4 separate regions of the Homo sapiens genome follow, and regions 1, 2 and 4 are each linked to region 3. The links are contacts of gene promoters, found by promoter capture Hi-C in blood cells and fetal thymus (Javierre and others, 2016). All regions are on one chromosome and are shown on one strand. The core of a region is centred on a gene start or on the middle of the fragment in contact, and the rest is flanking DNA. Distances in the headings are between cores, read along the strand shown.

The links. Contacts are between HindIII fragments. The CHiCAGO score rates a contact against its expected background, and 5 or more counts as called.
Region 1: a fragment that was not itself captured here is called in contact with the fragment with the promoter of FRMD3 in region 3 in 1 of 17 cell types (M2 macrophages); the score reaches 6.7 in M2 macrophages.
Region 2: a fragment that was not itself captured here is called in contact with the fragment with the promoter of FRMD3 in region 3 in 5 of 17 cell types (M0 macrophages, M2 macrophages, neutrophils and 2 more); the score reaches 9.7 in M0 macrophages.
Region 4: a fragment that was not itself captured here is called in contact with the fragment with the promoter of FRMD3 in region 3 in 5 of 17 cell types (M2 macrophages, M0 macrophages, neutrophils and 2 more); the score reaches 12.5 in M2 macrophages.

The regions. Positions count from the first base shown.
Region 1 is chr9:83,312,536-83,316,912 of GRCh38, forward strand. It overlaps FRMD3 (FERM domain containing 3), which reads right to left. Exons shown (of 14, transcript NM_174938.6): 7 at 1,125-1,212. Among named protein-coding and RNA genes, the nearest start is that of FRMD3-AS1, 95 kb to the left of the region's middle. The HindIII fragment of the contact is 4,123 bases long and covers 1-4,019 here.
Region 2 is chr9:83,358,294-83,362,621 of GRCh38, forward strand. The region is part of intron 3 of FRMD3 (FERM domain containing 3); the gene reads right to left. Among named protein-coding and RNA genes, the nearest start is that of FRMD3-AS1, 140 kb to the left of the region's middle. The HindIII fragment of the contact is 1,773 bases long and covers 1,046-2,818 here.
Region 3 is chr9:83,535,601-83,539,990 of GRCh38, forward strand. FRMD3 (FERM domain containing 3) reads right to left here and starts at 2,801. Exons shown (of 14, transcript NM_174938.6): 1 at 2,485-2,801. The coding sequence starts at 2,631. RefSeq lists a silencer at 754-1,048. The HindIII fragment of the contact is 8,384 bases long and covers 1-4,390 here.
Region 4 is chr9:83,404,935-83,409,223 of GRCh38, forward strand. All of the region lies in intron 1 of FRMD3 (FERM domain containing 3), which reads right to left. Among named protein-coding and RNA genes, the nearest start is that of FRMD3, 130 kb to the right of the region's middle. The HindIII fragment of the contact is 1,095 bases long and covers 2,256-3,350 here.

The sequences.
Region 1 (4,377 bases), core at 708-3,207, 220 kb before region 3:
ATAAAATACAGTTCAAATTTCTGCATAAAATTCACTAAAATGAATAAACTGATTAGTACCATTCTAGGAAAGAGCCGCTGGTAAATATTCCAACATTTGCGTAGGCAGAACAAGAGGATGTAAATGCTAGTATGGACAAGTACCCCTGGCTCTCCGCCTTGGCTGCACATTGGAAACACCTGGGTAGCCTGGTCGCCGCACCCACCACTCCCCCTCCGCCGCCCTGCGCCCCGCCCCGCCCTCCTCCCCAGCAGATCCTGACGTAATTGGTGTGGGATGTGTTCTGGTCAGCAGGTGCTAATGAAGCTCTCCAGGTGTTTCTAATGAGCAGCCCAAGCTGAGACCTATAGGACTAATGCTTTGCCAAATAAGATTAGGCAGTCCAATCTGGGTAAAGAAATTTGCCACTAAAACTCCAAAACTTATACTTAAGAGCCTAACTGATAAAATGCTTAGTTTAGGATTAGGACTAGTGTCTGGCTGATGCATAGTCTAATATATGGAAAGAAGAACGTTGCTTCAGTGAAACATTTCTGGAAAATGTATCTATAAGTATCACACCTTGGGAGCTTGATTAAAAAGGCAGATTCCCCAGTTGTACCCCCAGAATTCTGATTTAGTAGCTCTGGGGTGAGGTCCAGGAGATTCTGATATAAGTAGTCTGTGTTTCATCCTTGAGAGAAACACTGTCAAATATGAGTAAAGGAAAAAATAAAAACAAGTGTTCCTAATGCCAAAATGCAACTTGAAATCTTTCTTTTTTTTCCTTCCACTTTCCCATTTTTTAAAGACTCCATTCTTGCTGGCAATGGCCTTGAAAGTAAATGTGTCAGGAGCCTGTAACTCCTCAGGGGCCAAACCATCCATTTGATGAGTGAATCCATGGATGTTAATTTAGGAAAATATGGCTACTACATGGCAATCAATGAACAATTGGAAGACTCCAATGGAGAAAATCAGCTGCCAAAACATGTAACAGCAGCCCACTGTTGTCCCTTCCAATGAGGGACCGTGGGCCAAGCTGTGGGAAAGATTTAACAAGGCTCTGCCAGGCCTGCGCACAGATAAACTCTCTTTTGGGCAAAACAACCATTATATGGTGACCTGCTGTGAGGGGCAGTTACCTTGCATGGGTGAGGATCCACCCCGTAGGTTTCCAAAGTGTGAGCTTTCAGGAGCAAGTTAAATTCAGCAACTGGTGGGCTCTGCCCCCTAAAATCACACAAGAAAAGTTGAGGCAGTTAAAATGGAAAAGAATAGAAACTCGGAATCCCTTCATTCAATAAAGTATGGTGTTCTAAGCTAAATAAAGAGAAAAACCCTTACATAAATAGTAATCAGTAAGACTGATCATTATTTCTCACCACAAGGAGTCCTTTACTAAGGAACCCGAGCTTGTGTTCTCTAGTTAATTGTTCCATAACAAACCCACACGCACTCTGAGCGCTCCAGTGATCCGTACAGTTAATCAAGGTTATCAAGTTACCAATAAGCAGGCCCTTGCAAATTCAACCTTAATACGAAATAAAACTAATCATCTGTTCTTTCTGCTAATTTAAAAACATTATCCAGGTTAAATGGCATGCCTTCTTGCTCAGGGAAAAAAATGCACAATCCTGTTACCCCATCAACAAGCCTAAACAGAGCCATCAAGGCCAAAAGAATTGTCAACCATCCCACAGAGAGCCCTGGACTTCAAAAGGAAATCTCAACCACTAGTCCTAGCACTGTCCTGCGAGGTGGTAAACAAGGTCTTGGCCTCAGGGAGAAAAGGGCTGCAAATATAGATGACCGCGAAGCCCTTTCAGGGCTAACATCTAAAGAAAGACTATGCAACATTTCAAAGACCCCACTTTGACTAATATTAATATCCTACATGTATTTTAGAGAATCTCAATCATTCCCCAAGGATATTTATGTAATTCTAGCAACCAAGCAGAGAAAACAACAGGAATTCATTTTATTTTCAAAATGTAAAATTATATTGCAATATTAAATCTATCTCCACTTAACTTCCTTCCCAAAGACGGATTGTCCCCCCACCCCCTCAAGATAGCAAAGAGTCATCATACCTCTAAATCAAAACAGTATCCCATCTACTTTATTCCTAGAGCCCTTCACAATCTCTTTACCTTTAGTGCACTGGAGTTACACTGATACGTCTGAAGTCACTGTGGTATGTCTAGGGAGCATCTTTATTTATTCATCATGATCCGCACAGTGTAGATCCTTTTAATCCAACAATGCATATCTTTCTTTGACTATTTCTTGATTCTTTTCTTCCCTTCCCCACTTCCTCCACCACTCTCTCTCTCTCCCACTCTCTCTCTTATCTCCTTTGAGAGGCCCTAATAAATGGGTCTTGAAACTTCTAGGTCCTAGGTCTTTTAATCTTTGTTTCATTCTTTATATCTCTGTCTTTTGGTACTATGCTCTGAATTATTTCTTAATTCAAATGTCCAGCCTGCTAATTTATTCTTCAGCTGTGCACATTCTGCTGCTTCTGTCATTGATATGTTTTTTTTTTAAATATCAATGAAATATTTCATTTCCAATGTAATATCTATGTGGATCTTCAAATAGCAGCCTGTTCTCAGCTCATGATCATGAATTCCTCTTATCCCTCTGAGGGTACCACTTCATTTCTATTAAGGTCCAATCTTGTTGGCTGCATTAATGCTGCTTTCTTGGTGAAGGTCATTTTGTATGCTGACTCAGAGTCTGTAATTTGTGGAGCTGATGTTTCCTTAAGTGTTTGGTGATTCCTGTTGGACTCTCATTTTTATATTTGATGTATCAGCCTCCAGAGGTTGAGGGAAGAGTGGGATGTGCCGTGTGGAACAGCATGTGATATGATTTGGATTTGTGTCCCCACCCAAATCTCATGTCGAATTGTAATCCCCAACGTTGGAGGAGGGGCCTGGCGGGAGGTGATTGGATCATGGGGGCAGATTTCTCCCTTGCTGTTCTCGGGATAGTGAGTCCTCACAAGATCTGGTTGTTTACAAGTGTGTAGCACCTCCCCCTGCTCTCTCTTCCTCAGGCTCCAGCCACATAAGATGTGCCTCCTTCCTCTTTGCCTTCCACCACGTTTGTAAGTTTCCTGAGGACTCTCCAGCCATGCTTCCTGTTCAGCCTGTGGTACTGTGAGCCAATTAAACCTCTTAATTACCCAGTCTTGTGTAGTTCTTTATAGCAATGCAAGAACAACTAATACAACATGTATCAGTAACTTGACTGGGGGCCGAAGGTTCTAGTTCTAGGCACGCACACCGGGTACCTTCCGCTCAAGCCTGCTGCTGCCCATGACTCAGCACAAAGCAACCAGAGGGAGGGGTCAAAGTTGTCCACTTGCTTCAAATGTAGTTGCCCACTCACTGTGATGGCTGTTGTGTGTATTCCTGGAGGCACCCAGAAACCCAGAACCACTGCTATTCTAAGTCTGTGTCTGGCCTGGATCCCTTCTGTTTCCTATCTTCCACAGATGTTGCAGGATTTCTGATCCAAAGATGATATTTTCTCCTATTCCTTTTCTAATGCTTTTCCTGTTATCCATAAGGACTCGGTGAAGGAAAGGAAGATTGACATATATGCCACCTTATTCTTTTTTCTCTTTTTTTTTTTTCTTTTTTTTTTTTTTTGAGACAGAGTCTCACTCTATTGCCCAGGTTGGAGTGCAGTGGTGCAATCTCAGCTCACTGCAACCTCTGCCTCCCAGGTTCAAATGATTCTCCTGCCTCAACCTCCGGAGTAGCTGGGATTACTGGTGCCCGCCACCACACCCAGCTAATTTTTGTTTTTAGTAGAGATGGGGTTTCGACATGTTAGCCAGGCTAGTCTTGAAGTCCTGATCTCAAGCAATCCACCTGCCTCAGCCTCCCAGAGTGCTGGGATTGCAGGCATGAGCCACTTCACCTGGCCACCTTTTTCTTTTAATAGAAAAGATCATTTTTAAAGCCATCTACAGAATACTCCTGAGGAATTAAGTCAAATTTGTGCTTTAGAAAAATAAAGTCTAAAGCTTTTCAAGATTTCCTTATTCATTTTAGTGTTCTGAAATTTCACTGTGATATATGTATATAGAGAATATCTTTATGTATTCATCCCAATCAGTACTTGTGGGCACTTTCGATCCAGCAATTACTATCTTGGGCCATTTCTTTGATTCTTTTCTTTTCAAGACACAGTCATTATAATTTTTTCCTTTTGATAAAGTAACAATGGACTCAGGAAAATTAACAACTATATTGACAGGGATGGGAAAAGAGATCTCTGGAAGGTTTTCTTAATCCATATGGTATTTCTCTCTCCATCTCTCTCATAAGTTCTTGAAGTAATATCTTACTCTCCACCAACAAATAAACCATACAGAAAATT
Region 2 (4,328 bases), core at 682-3,181, 180 kb before region 3:
CTATTTTTATACCAGTACCATGCTGTTTGGTGACTATGACCTTATAGTATATAGTTTGAAGTCGGGTAATGTGATGCCTCCAGATTTTTTCTTTTTGCATAGTCTTGCTTTGTCTATGTGGGCTCTTTTTTGGTTCCATATGGTTTTTAGAATTGTTTTTTCTAGTTATGTGAAGAATGATGGTGGTATTTTGACGGGAATTACACTGAATTTGTAAATTGCCTTCGGCAGTATGGTCATTTTCACAATATTGATTCCATCCATCCATGAGCATGGGATGTGTTTCCGTTTGTTTGTGTTGTCTATGATTTCTTTCAGCAGTGTTTTGTAGTTTCCCTTGTAGAGGTCTTTCACCTCCTTGGTTAGGTATATTCTTAAGTATTTATTTATTTATTTATTTATTTATTTATTTATTTATTTGTAGCTATTGTGAAAGGGATTGAGTTCTTGATTTTATTCTCAGCTTGGTCACTGTTGCCTATATTCCTGTTGTGCACATGCCATGCACAGTGATGCCAATGGATTCAACTGTGCTGCATTCAATAATGATATGGTTCGAAAGCACAAACTACCTCTGCACATATGCAAAATGACGCTTGAGCACCTAAAGGGGAGAACATTGCTCACTCATTCTCCAACTGTGACTCTAGAAATATGTGTAAATAAGCCAGCCACAGAGAGTGCAGGCTGCATTCATGACTGCTCTCTTCTACATGGAAATGATTATAATCATTAAACAACAACTGTTACTATCAGCATCATCAGCAACAGTGATGATCCTTCCCCCACTCTTACTGAAATGATAATCACTGTGTTTCCCCAGCTTCCAAAGCAGAGACAGGTTTTTAAAATCATGTTTAATTCATCTTCCTCTCGTTACAGTTCCCTCCTATGCTTTTATCACACACAGGCATGCCCACCCACACTCGTAGGCACTGACTACAGTCACTCAGAGAACTCTCTTAAGGGAGATTGGAATGCTGAGTGGTTGCCTCACAAATCCTTGGTCTCTGAATTCTCTTCCTGCCTATGCCTGCTCAGGAGAAGCTTGAAAAGAGACTTTGGGGTCCCATACTTCTAACCTCAAGTTTGTCATTTGAACAAATTGCTGCGTCCAAACTTAAAACTCCCTGCCTCCATTTCCTCATCTGTAAAATGGGAATAATAATGGAACCAACCACAGAGAGCAGGGCATCAAACTTTCTCTGTAAAGGGCTAGAGAATAAATATTTTCAACTTTGGAAGGCTCGAGTTTTCTGTCTCAACGACTCCACCCAGTTGTTGTAGTAGAGAAGCAGCCACCACCAATACATAAACAAGTGTGTATAGCTGTGCTCCAATAAAACACTGAAGTTTGAATTTGTATCATTTTTGTATGCCACAAAAATCTTATATATCTTTTGGTTTTTTTCAACCATTTAAAAATGTGAAACCTATTCCTAGACCAAAGGCCATATGAACATAGGTGGTGACTAGGTGTGGCCTGCGACCCGTCGTAGAGACCACAATGAGGATGACATGAGTTCATGACTGCGTAGAGACCACAATGAGGATGACATGAGTTCATGACTGCAAAGCACTTCGCAGCCTGCTGAGACCTGTGGACTGAATGCATAGGAATTATTGTTACTCTAAAGTGCAGGGAAGAAACCAACATGGCTAAAGTCAAGTCCTTCAATGTTACCTTGCCTTTTACCTGGGTTGAAAGAGTGAGGGGGCACTGTCATCTCTCAGGGAGGAGTGAGGAAGAAGTGGGCATGAGACAGGTGTGTATATGAAGAGATATTTGGCAGCCCTGGCATCTAAAGGACAGCTTTGCTGCCTGAGCCGAGGGTACAATGACCTAAACATTTTAGCCAAAAGGTTAGCAAGAACACATGAAACTGAAGGCAAGAGACCCAGGAACCTGTTTGCTGCTGATGTTGTATAACTAGCCAGACCCTTGGAGTCATGTTGATAGGTGTAAATCAATATGTAGAAATAACAACTGTAACAGAAAAATTCAACTACTTACATAACTTGGTATTGAGATTTGATACTATAAAGTTGCATCCAAAAATCAGGCATTATAAAGGCTCTCCCACCAAAGGGAGACATGAACAAAGCCTTCCTACCCACTTGGCCCACACTTGAACCACCTCTAGTACTCACATACCGAGCATGGAACCTCCTGCCCATCATGGTTATCATTCAGACACTCATGCTGCCAGCATGTGTAGTTTTGAGTCGTGTGGGCCCCTAAGAAAGAATGCGGGCATTCCTGAAGGAAGAAGAAAGCCCCTGAAAGTACTGCCCCAGAGATATAAGGACTTCCCCCAGGAGAGGCTCCTATTCCTTCTGCTTCCTCCACTACCCCTGTCACACTACCCCGCTTCCCACGAGGAGTGCTAGGTACTCCCTGAAACCCCTGCACACACTACTGCACCCAATCAAAATGATGTCAGTGTTGCCACCAACCATTGCATAAGCATAAAGTTAAAAATTAGAAATCTATGGCTTGTCAAGTGTGCACATCATTTAGAACTGCATGCTATAAAATTAAGGGTTTTTGTCATTACTATTGTTACTGTCCTCTCCTTCCATATTGGGAAACAAAGAAAGAGCACAACATGGAAACCATTTATAGGCTCAAATTGCATTAACTTTCTGGGAGAAGGATCAAATATAAAAATTTTGATGAACAGTTGAACTTGGTAGAATAACAGATACCTGGCCCAACCTAATGAGCTGTCTCTAGAACAAGGTAAGCAAACAGGTGTCCAACGCTGGAGACACTCCATGGCTGAAACAAAAATCATAGCTGCTCTTCTTGGAAAGAAGCTTTGGAAGAAGAAAACTGGGAAGAACAAAGGCATCCAAAACTAAACCATAGTACTTGGGGACTTTGTACTTTTTGATTTATGTAATGAGCTGTGTTCAGTTGTATGTTTTGCTTTTTTTTGTAAAAAAATAGCATTTGAACTTCCACCTGTGCTGTAAAAAGAGCATTTTAATCCTAGTCAGAAAGCATTTATTATGAATCAATAACATGCATAACATTTTATACAAAGCCATGGAACAGGTGAAGAAATTTTCCAAACCCAGTGCTGGAGATTATGATTAGACAAGTAGGTTATACGAATGAGGATGATAGCATAGGCTGCCCCTCACTCTGGAGGCAGGGTTACAGCCACAACAGGGATTGGAAGAAATGAATTGTGCAAAGCTTTACTGTCAAAAGCATGTGACCAAGGTCAGCAAAACAGAACAACATACACAAAGGGGGCTAGAGGTAGTAAGCTAAAGAAAGAGGCTAAAGAAAAATGCTGAGAGTACTGGAGATCTAAAAAACCCATGTCCACCTAGAACCTCAGAATGGAACCCTATTTGGAAATAGGGTCTTTGTAGATGTAATTGATTAATTAATTACAATGCATTCATATTAGGTTAGGGTGGTCCCTAAATCCATTGACTGATATCTTTATAAGAGAAAGGAGAGTGAGACTTTGACACAGGGCACAGAGAAACATAGGGAGGCACCATGTGAAGATGGAGGCAGAGTGTGGAGTGAGGCAGCTACAAGCCAAGGAAGGCCAAGGACTGCAGGAAACCAGCAGAAGCCAGAAAAGGCAGGAAGCATTCTTCCCTAGAGCCTTCGGAGGGAGCATGGCCCTGCTGACAACTTGGTTTCAGACTTCTGGCCTCCAGAACTGTGAGCAAGTAGATTTCTATTGTTTTAAGCCACCCAGTATGTGATAATTTATTATGGATGCCCAGAGAAACTAACACACTCAGCAAGGGGAAAACTGGAAGAACAAGTAGAGTTGAGAGTCAATCATCCAAGCTGGCCTCATGAGTATGAGACCTGTGGCTTTACACCAGAGCAAAATCGATGCTGTTGGTTCTCTCTCTCTCTCTCTCTCTCTCTCTCTCTCTCAATCTCAATCTCAATTTCCTATTGACAAAAAATCATTCATTAGCAAGAGAGCTATTTGTTAGATTAGCCCCAAGGGGGATGTTGGAAAGCTAATGAATGAGACATAAACATGAAGTACCAAGACTATCACCATCAAAGTCAGGAATTCCACACCATCCCAGGTTTCCAGGGAGTGCCATCACAACTTCTGAGCACCACTGTCATCAGCCAGCAACAACTTGACTCAGTACTGCTATTATGGCTGAGTTGTATGCATGTGTTATGCAGAGGCTGGGGGTTCCTGCCTACCCTGATTTGCATGCAGAAGCCATTTCCAAGCACCCCTGCCCCTTCAGGGTGCTTGGGAGCAGCACAGTCTCTGGTAAATAGGGCAAGAATAGGATCTTAACTACCTTGCTGTGCTAATCAGGCC
Region 3 (4,390 bases), core at 1,551-4,050:
TTATGAGACTTTTTGTGATTTTTTTTTTTTTAGCTCATCAGCTATCGTTAGCGTTAGTGTATTTTATGTGTGGCCCAAGACAATTCTTCTTCTTCCAATGTGGCCCAGGGAAGCCAGAAAATTGGACACCCCTGCTCCAGAGCCAGGCAGACACCAGGGATGAGAGCTCCTAACGCAGACAGGCAGATGTGGGCTATGGAGAGAGGGTGACATTCTGTGACAATATATACAATCCTTTAACTTTGTAGTTCTATAGAAGGAAGGAAGCAAACACAGATGGATTCACCCAGAACAAGTGCCAGTAATTCCAAATGGTTTTGTTTCGCATTGTTTTTTAATCCTTTTGTTCTCACTCTAAGCAAATGGGAAGTCTTTGTTACCTGATACCCGGAAGGGCAATTTCAATTCCTGGTCTGGAGTACTCTAGGAAAGTGTGAGGTCTAAAGTTATCCAAATAAAATATTTTAATTTATTTTAATTGGTTAAATAATAATTGTAATTTGGGGGCAGAAAGGGCAGAAAAAGACAAATCACAAAATGAAACATCATAATTTTTTAAAAATCAGTGCCCAAGCCAACATTTTGAAACATAACATTTTAACCTCTTTGGCACTAGTTGGGTCATAAGCACTGGAGTTTTTCAAACTGTTGTTAGACTGGCTACAATTTATTGTTTCTCAAAACACAAGACAACAAATACATGTCCTTTGGGGAATATTTATTATTCTAAGGAAGACTTCATCCTGAGGGAGGGGAAAAAAATGTCAACACCAAGTGGTACAGGGCAGAAGAGGGCTGAGAGACAGAGGAGAACTCAACAGCCTCTCTCCCTGACGGCCCCTCCATCATCTACACATTCATTATGGGTTAAAGGACCTGTACACCCACTTTAGGACTTAAAGCAAAGTGCACAGTCCACACTCTCTGGATCACAAGACTATTAGTACATGCCAGATGCTTCTGTGCAACCCTTGTGGCAGTAGAAACACTGCCTATCCTGCTAATCCTTTTATTATTAAGTTTAGCAGTGCTGCTTAGCTCAGAATGAAATTCAAGCTCCCCCAGAAAATTCAATGGGAGCCTACTTTCCTGGGAGATCATGGGGCATCACATTCCTACCTTGACACTTGTCCGGCTGTCAGGTTACAAATTAATTGCAACTGCCCCCAACATGTCACACACTCCCACTAACAAAAATTAAATAAAAATAAAACAGGGAAAGTCCTTTCATTCCTTCATGGTTTGCACAGCCTAGAGGCTGATTCCTACTCTGGGAGATGCTGCCCCACTCACCTCCCACTGACATGGGTGGTGTGCCCTGTATTACACTAAAAAAAAAAAAAAAAAAAAAAAGCTCAGTCCCAGAGCCTCAAGACTCGACTAGGGTAGGTGAGAAAGGAAATCCCAGAGATAAACAGTTAAATAGATTTAGAAGTCAGAAGTTAATTGTGCTGAGCCCTGACACAACCTTTCCTGATTGTGTGCGCACCGAGTGGGGCATCTTTGGGGTCCTGGAAGAGGGGCTCCCACCTGCCTACATATTCACCCACAGCAAATATGCACACGCACGCGCAACCACATGCACACACACACCTTTGCACCTCACACTAGCTCTCCTGACAGCCCAGAGGCACTTACTACCCGAGGACAGGGCTGCCAGCAAAGCTGCCTTCTCCCAAACAACTCGCCTTCTCCTCCAACTTGGGCGACAGTGAATGTCCACCAAGATTCCACGGGGCTCTTTTACCCAGGACCCAGGTTCCTGCAGGGCTCCCCACTTGCTGGCCTCACAATCCCTTTTCCTTTCTCCGAAACACTCAGACTTCACACATTCCTTTCGAGGTAGCTCCAGTCCGGCGCAGCGCGCGCTCCATCCCTCAAGGCTGGCGCCCAGGGCAGCCCGGCCTCTCTCACTCTGGGGAAACTTCGCCACCGCCCCACGCGGAGAACTAAAGACCACCGGCGGAGGGTGAGGGGGACCGACACGGAGCGGAAAGCAGGTTCCGGGACTGAGGGCGTCTCCGGAGCCTGGGCGCGGGAGACAGAAATGAGTGAACCCAGCTGATGCATGCCTTCTCCACGTGGAAGAAGGGAGGAAATACCAGTGGGCGACATGCAGGTGCCCCTCTCAGCCCTCGGAGCTCCCATCTCCTGGCGGAGTAGGGCCCAGAGGGGCCAGAGTCCCTCCGGAGGCAGCTGCCCCGCGCCCCTAGCCCGGGCGCAGTGAGACGCGCGCGCAGGGTGCACGCGAGGGGAAGGAGACTGGGCGCGGATAACGCGTGCCTGGCGCTTGCAGGGCACCATGCCCCTCCATGCCAGGATAAGGCCCCCCACCCTCAGAGGCCTGAGGAATCGAAATCTGGCTTTCTAGCAGTCCCCCAATCCCCTCCGGGAGTGGGTTCCTTGTTCTCGCATGCCCACCGCAAAGGCCCCCCGCCCTGCTCCCGGCGTGTGCCCCGCGCCCTCGCCCGGTTCCACGCGCACCTGGATGTGGCAGGAGATCTCCGAGTCGTCCAGCAGCCGGATGGTGCATCTCATCTCCTGGCTGAGCGATTTGACGCTGGAGCTCCGAAAGTGGATCATTTTCATGGTCCTCCTGCCTCTCGGCACACAGTGGCAGGAGGCGAACATGCACCGCGGCCGTGGGGAGCGAGCGGGAGGCTCAGGGCCGGCGCGGTGCTCGCCTGCGCGGACACACACGCTCGCACGCACTGTCCGGGACACCTGGGCGCGGCTCAGCCCCGGGACATCGGCAGCGTCGGGCGCCTGCGGACACACATGCCCAGCGGCCGGGGCGCGGCGGGCGGGTCCCTCCCTCTGTTCGCTCGCCTCCGCCTCGCCCCCTCCTTTCCCCGCCTCCTTCTGTCGCGCGCGCTCGTGCGCCTCCCTCTGCCCGGGCTCGCTCGCCGAGGACGCCCAGAGCCTGAGACCCCCGGCGGGCTCGCGACGCACTCACTCCCACGCGCGCCGAGCAGCTGAAGGAGGAGGCGGAGGGATGGCTGGCGCGGCTGGCCCGGGTGCCCTGGTGGTGGCCTGCTCAGTCGCAGCCGCCGCTGCGTCAAGCTGGGCCCGACTGCCTTCCTCAGCCTCACCGCCTCCTCCCTCCCCTGGCCGCTGTCGCTCGGGCTCCCGGTTGTGCTCGTCCCGGCCCCGGCTCCCCAACGCGCTCGACAGCGCCCTGCTCTGCTCAGCTCCAGGGACCTGGCGCGGGTAGGGGACGGAGAGCGATCCTGACCCACACCGCCAGGGGGATTCCGCCTCGGGAAAGGATTGCTGGGCCCAGGGCGAGTGACAGAGAGAGTGACAGCCCTGACACGGCTACACCAGGAATATCGCTAATAGTAAAAATCTCTGGTACTCATGGAGATTGTTTAAGCCATTGTTTTATTTAATGCTAGCTAGGACTCAGTCTCTTTCTCCAAAAAAGAGCCTTCCATGTGCAAATCCTCCTTTAAATCTCCCAACATCTTAGTGTGATCTTTGATAGCATACCTTTGACCCGAGCAAGAGGGATAGGTTCCTATCCTACTCCCCTGCTTTACAGACCTCCTCCAGTTCCCGGTTGCTCAGGAATTAAGAGGTCTAATGGCAAAGCGGATGTGCCCCATCCCGTTTTAGTCCAATCTCTGGGTATTGAGGACTCTGGAATTCCCCACGCGCCTCCAGGGTGTTGAAGGTAGGAGGTATCCTGCCTCTCTGTTGTCCCCAAGGTGGCTAGAGCCACTGTGTCAGGTACCGTAGGCCCGAGAGTGGCCAGGAGCAGCTGTTGAGTCAGGGGTATGGAGCTTGAATGTGAGCACTAGAATGTCCAGGAGCTGGGAGAGATGGAAGTCCTCTCACCCTGTTGCTCTTGCCGGAGCAGAACAGGTCATTAGGAAGGAACATTTGTTAGAAGAGGAGGTGTTGACCAGCTGTCAGCTTTTTCAAGGTTTGTGCCTGCATAGAGTCCCCTCATCCAAAGATATGCCCTGTCCTGGGGGTCGAGGAAGAGTGGCACACAAATTTTACCTGCCCTGGACAGTCTGGTGGGCCATATATTCTCTAGGACACCTAGTGGGGTTGGCTAAGGTTTGGGGGAGTCCGCATTGCATTTGGACTTCTCTCTCTGCCTGCTCCTGCCTCCTCTCCCTGTTGATCACTAATAAATACCACACAGGACAAACTCAGTCTCAGTATCTGCTCCTGGAAATTCCAAATTGCAACAATTTGTCAAGATAGGAGGATAGAGAATGTTTTATGTAGCACTCAATAGCTGACTATTGCTTATGAATATTTAGATGATAGTATGGGGCATTCATGTAGGCTCTTGAGCTGGGCCCTTCAAATGTTAGGGCAGATCCTGATGGAGAGGTCAGTATTGAGGGTATGGGAAGATGTGGATTTCATTCTT
Region 4 (4,289 bases), core at 1,553-4,052, 130 kb before region 3:
ACAGCCTATATTCCCAAGGGCTGATGGACTAGAGGTATCCTTAAGACTCACAAACCAGAATTCCAGTTCTCATGTTATCTAGAAGTACTGCTTCCTTTTCATTTTGGAGAGCAGAGAAGGAAGAGACGATGGGCTGAGTGAAGACCGACCATCTCTGATCTTAAAGTTCCATTTCGGGGACCCCTTGTAGAGGCCCCTTTAAAACATTACCCCAGCAGTTTTAAGCACAAGTGCATGGTAGAGTCCCCTGCCTCTGCCAACTGATAGCCCTTGGCAATGTATTAACCTCTCTGGGCCTCCCAGTGCCCAGGTGTGCAACAGTGGGCTGCACTGGATAATGGTGAAGCTCCGCCTCAGACCCAAGCTGAGGCAGTTCTGGGTTTCCACAATGCCATGTTAGCAGAGCGCCACCCTGGCTTTGTCCCAGGGCTTACAGTGATCCACTTACATCTGAACCCAATCAGCTGGGTCCCCTAAAAGTTGCATCATGGGATGAGGAAGGAGCGGTTCTGGGATACAGAGAGAAGGATTGAAAGTATCCATAGAGCTGGGCACAGTGGCTCACACCTGTAATCCCAGCACTTTGGGAGGCCGAGGCAGGTAGATCACCTGAGGTTGGGAGTTCGAGACCAGCCTGACCAACATGAAGAAACCCCATCTCCACTAAAAATGCAAAAAAAAAAAAATTAGCCGGGCATGGTGGCACATGCCTGTAATCTCAGCTACTTGGGAGGCTGAGGCAGGAGAATTGCTTGAACCCGATCTTGTGGTGAGCCAAGATCGCGCCATTGCACTCCAGCCTCGGCAACAAGAGCGAAACTCAGTCAAAAAAAAAAAAAGAAAGAAAGTGTCCATCATCTCCCTCCAAGCCCATGCCTGCAGTGAGGGTGGGACCAGAGCTGGCAGAGGTTTTTAGTTTGACAGTTTGTTGGAGTAGGGCTGAGCTGCATAATTGGTTCTTACTTTCCGTCCTGACGAAAATTCTGCCAATTTTACTCGGTCACAGATTAAAGCAAACAGTAACTTGTGTTTCATTTCACATAGGCAATTTCTTTTTTTTTTCCAGCAATTCTATCACATTCCATTCTCCCTTCCTACTGCCCCCTAGCATACATACTGAGAATTTGGCTGTGCCACTAATGCAAGGCAGCTGGGGTTGGAAATCAGAAAGCAGATAAACAGCATTGCTAAGGAGCTGCAGGAGTCTTCGGATCTCACAGAGCACAGAAAGTAGTCCTCTGAGTCTTCTGCCTCCAGTCACTAACACCAATCTTCCCTGCTTTCCCCTCCCTCCGTCCACCCACACCTCCTAGTTCCCATCTCCTTCTGTGAAGGGCCTCCCAATCTTTTCTTCCCATCATCATGGCCACAAGTTAGAAGATGAGAAGGAGAAAAGTCAAAGGCTACTAGAGCCAAGGAATTCCTCACAATGAACTGCAGTGTCTGGAGGACCAGTTGGGTAGCCTTACTCCGGGTCTCCACTGCAGAACTTATACATATATGCTTTGTGCACACAAAGAAAAACAGCAGCCCAAAGATTCCAGCTAGGGCTCTTAGGATGGAGGAAAGTTCCCACAGGTAACTCACTGGTTAATTTTAAAGAGCTCAGGAAAGGAAGGAAGGATGGCTTTTTCTCTTGTGAGTCAAGACAAGGTCCTGATGATAACCCTCCCAGATCAGAACGTAACTTTCAACCCACGAGTGCTGCTCCCCCAAGTTATATGCATCATCTCAGAGAGTTGGTTCCTTGCCATTGGGCAATTGACATGTTGTCAACGGGTCCTTATTTGGTGGTCAGTAAATGTTAGCCAGCATCGGTGAGGACACAGCCCATAGAAGAGAGCAGAGAAATCCAGAAATGTAAACTGTATGTATCTCTTCTTCAAGTTGCTGGGTTTTATTTTGTTGTTGTTCCTGTTGTTGTTTTCTGTTTAATTTATTTTCCATATTTTCCTCCAGTTTATTTTATCACTCCAAATACTCCGCAAAATGCCCCACCACCATGGTTGGTTTCACTCTTGCCATTCCCCTGTGTGAATAAAGCCCTTCTCACCACCTATCAAAATTTTGTCACTGATGTGTTCACCTGATCCTGGCAGAGAGTTCGCTGCAGATCCTGCTTCTGCATGAGAGGCCTCACAGACTCCCCACACCCTCGCTGACCTTTCTGTCCTCTGACCTCATTTGGAAATGGATGAAATACTGTCACGGTCATTTCTCATGATGGTGTAATTCCAGTTTCATCACTTATCTTAAGCTTCCTTTTCTCAAGTGAACTTATTTTTCATCAAGTTTTTCATTGTACTTTACAGGATAATTTGTACACACAGTAAATACTTGGTACAAATATTCATTAAACCATAACAAAGCACCATTTTTACCTATCCACTTCCCAAATCCAAAAATTCTAAAAATGGCCAACCCCAACAAGGATATAATGGTGGAATTGCATACTACTAGAAGTCTAAATTATGGGAGAAAATTGTGTAGATATAACTTAGGGAATTTTTAATCTCTGTATTTCCCCCAGCCTCCACTCCCACTTTAAAAAGGCATTCGGCTCCACAATCCCTACCCTCCTTGGAGGCTATATGTAGCAGAATGAAAATTAGTAGCTGGTGAGACCTCTTGGATTTTGTTTTCATATGTCTAAATCCACTGAGAATAGAATATGAGAAGTGTTCTAGTTATCTGTTCCTGTGTAACAAGCCACTCTAAAACATAGGAGCAAAAACCAATAAGTATTCTCTCACAGTTCTTTGTATTGACTGAGCTCAACTGGATGGATCTTGTCTGGGTTCCTCTATATTACTGGAGTCTGATGTGGAAGCAACTGAAGATTTCTTCACTCACATGTCTGGTGCCTAGACTGGTCTGGCCAGCAGAGGAGGGGGGTTGTTGAGTCTCTCTCTCTCTCTCTCTCTCTCTCTCTCTCTCTCATCTTTCTCTCTCTCTCTCTCTCTCTCTCTCATCTTTCTCTCTCCCTCCCCTTTCTCTTTCTCTTTCTCTCCATGCAGCTCTCCATGTGTGTAGCTAGCTTGGGCTTCCTTACACCATGGCAGTCTCCAGGAAGCCAGACTTCTCCATCAGCAGCCAGCCTCCTGCAAGATGAGCATTCCCAAAGGGTCCAGGCAGAGGTTGCTTTTCACACATTGTCACTTCCACTGCATTCTACTGATTACAAGTGAGTCACTATGGCCAACCTGGATTCAAGGGAAAGGGAATTAAACATGTCCTCTCAACGAGATGAAAGCAAAGAATGTATGGCTATCTTTATTTAATGTGCCACAGGGGAATAAAAGATTCTTCTTTCAGATTAAAACGAAGAAAGGAACAAGCTGTATGAACCAAGCTTGCTCCCTGGATGTGCTCTGTGTTGGCACAAGGATATTCGGGAGGAAAAATATGGTCTATCTAGGAAAAAAAAAATATCACAAACATGGGGCTTTCTGCCCTCACCAGGTTGTCATGTCCTAAGAACCCCCACTGGGCCCAAGGGTCAGGCTGATGTGGACATCTAGCCAATAATGAACATGCCTCCCTCCCATTTCTTGGCACCCAGTGAGACTCCAGAAACTAGGCACAACCCCCAGGTGGGGGAAAGTTCAGAAAAGACACATGAAAATGTTTCCAGCTACCCCAGGGGGAAAGGGGCTTGATATGAAAACTAGGTTGATTTATGGAAAATAGATTACTGTATCTCTTCCAGCCTGGGTTTGGGAACTGACCTTGGTGTCAACCCCTAAATTTTATTTCTTCTGACTTGACTCTTCAGTGAAGTCATTCTGCCTCTCAGGTTGAGCCTTCTGCATCCTCTCCTTTCATCACTAATTACCAGAGCAGAGTTAAGCTGCTACCACAGGCACCCTCGGACACAATCCATGCAGAAACACGTGAACTGGAAGATTAACCATTCAGGTGCAGGGAAGATGGTGGGGAGACCACACACAGCTCAATTTGGAAATGGATTTCCCATTCCCTCCTGAGAAAGAGGCGAGAAGGAAGAGAGCAGCAACCCTGCCAGAGCCAACATAGTGTGCAATCCATTGTCCTGAAAGTCTACCCAGGCAGCTCAAAGAATGCTGCGATAAATTACATACACCTCTCTATTGCCCCCAAAGAATCAGTTCCATGCAGGTCAGCAGCATACTCGGGAAAGCAAAGGTTGTCCATCCCCAGGCATGGAGGTCAACCTTTTCTCCACCAGGTTCCCAGAATGCAGCCCCATTTGAGGTGGGATGTGATGCAGAAGGCTCATGAAGATGTTAAAAGCACACAGTATCAAACTC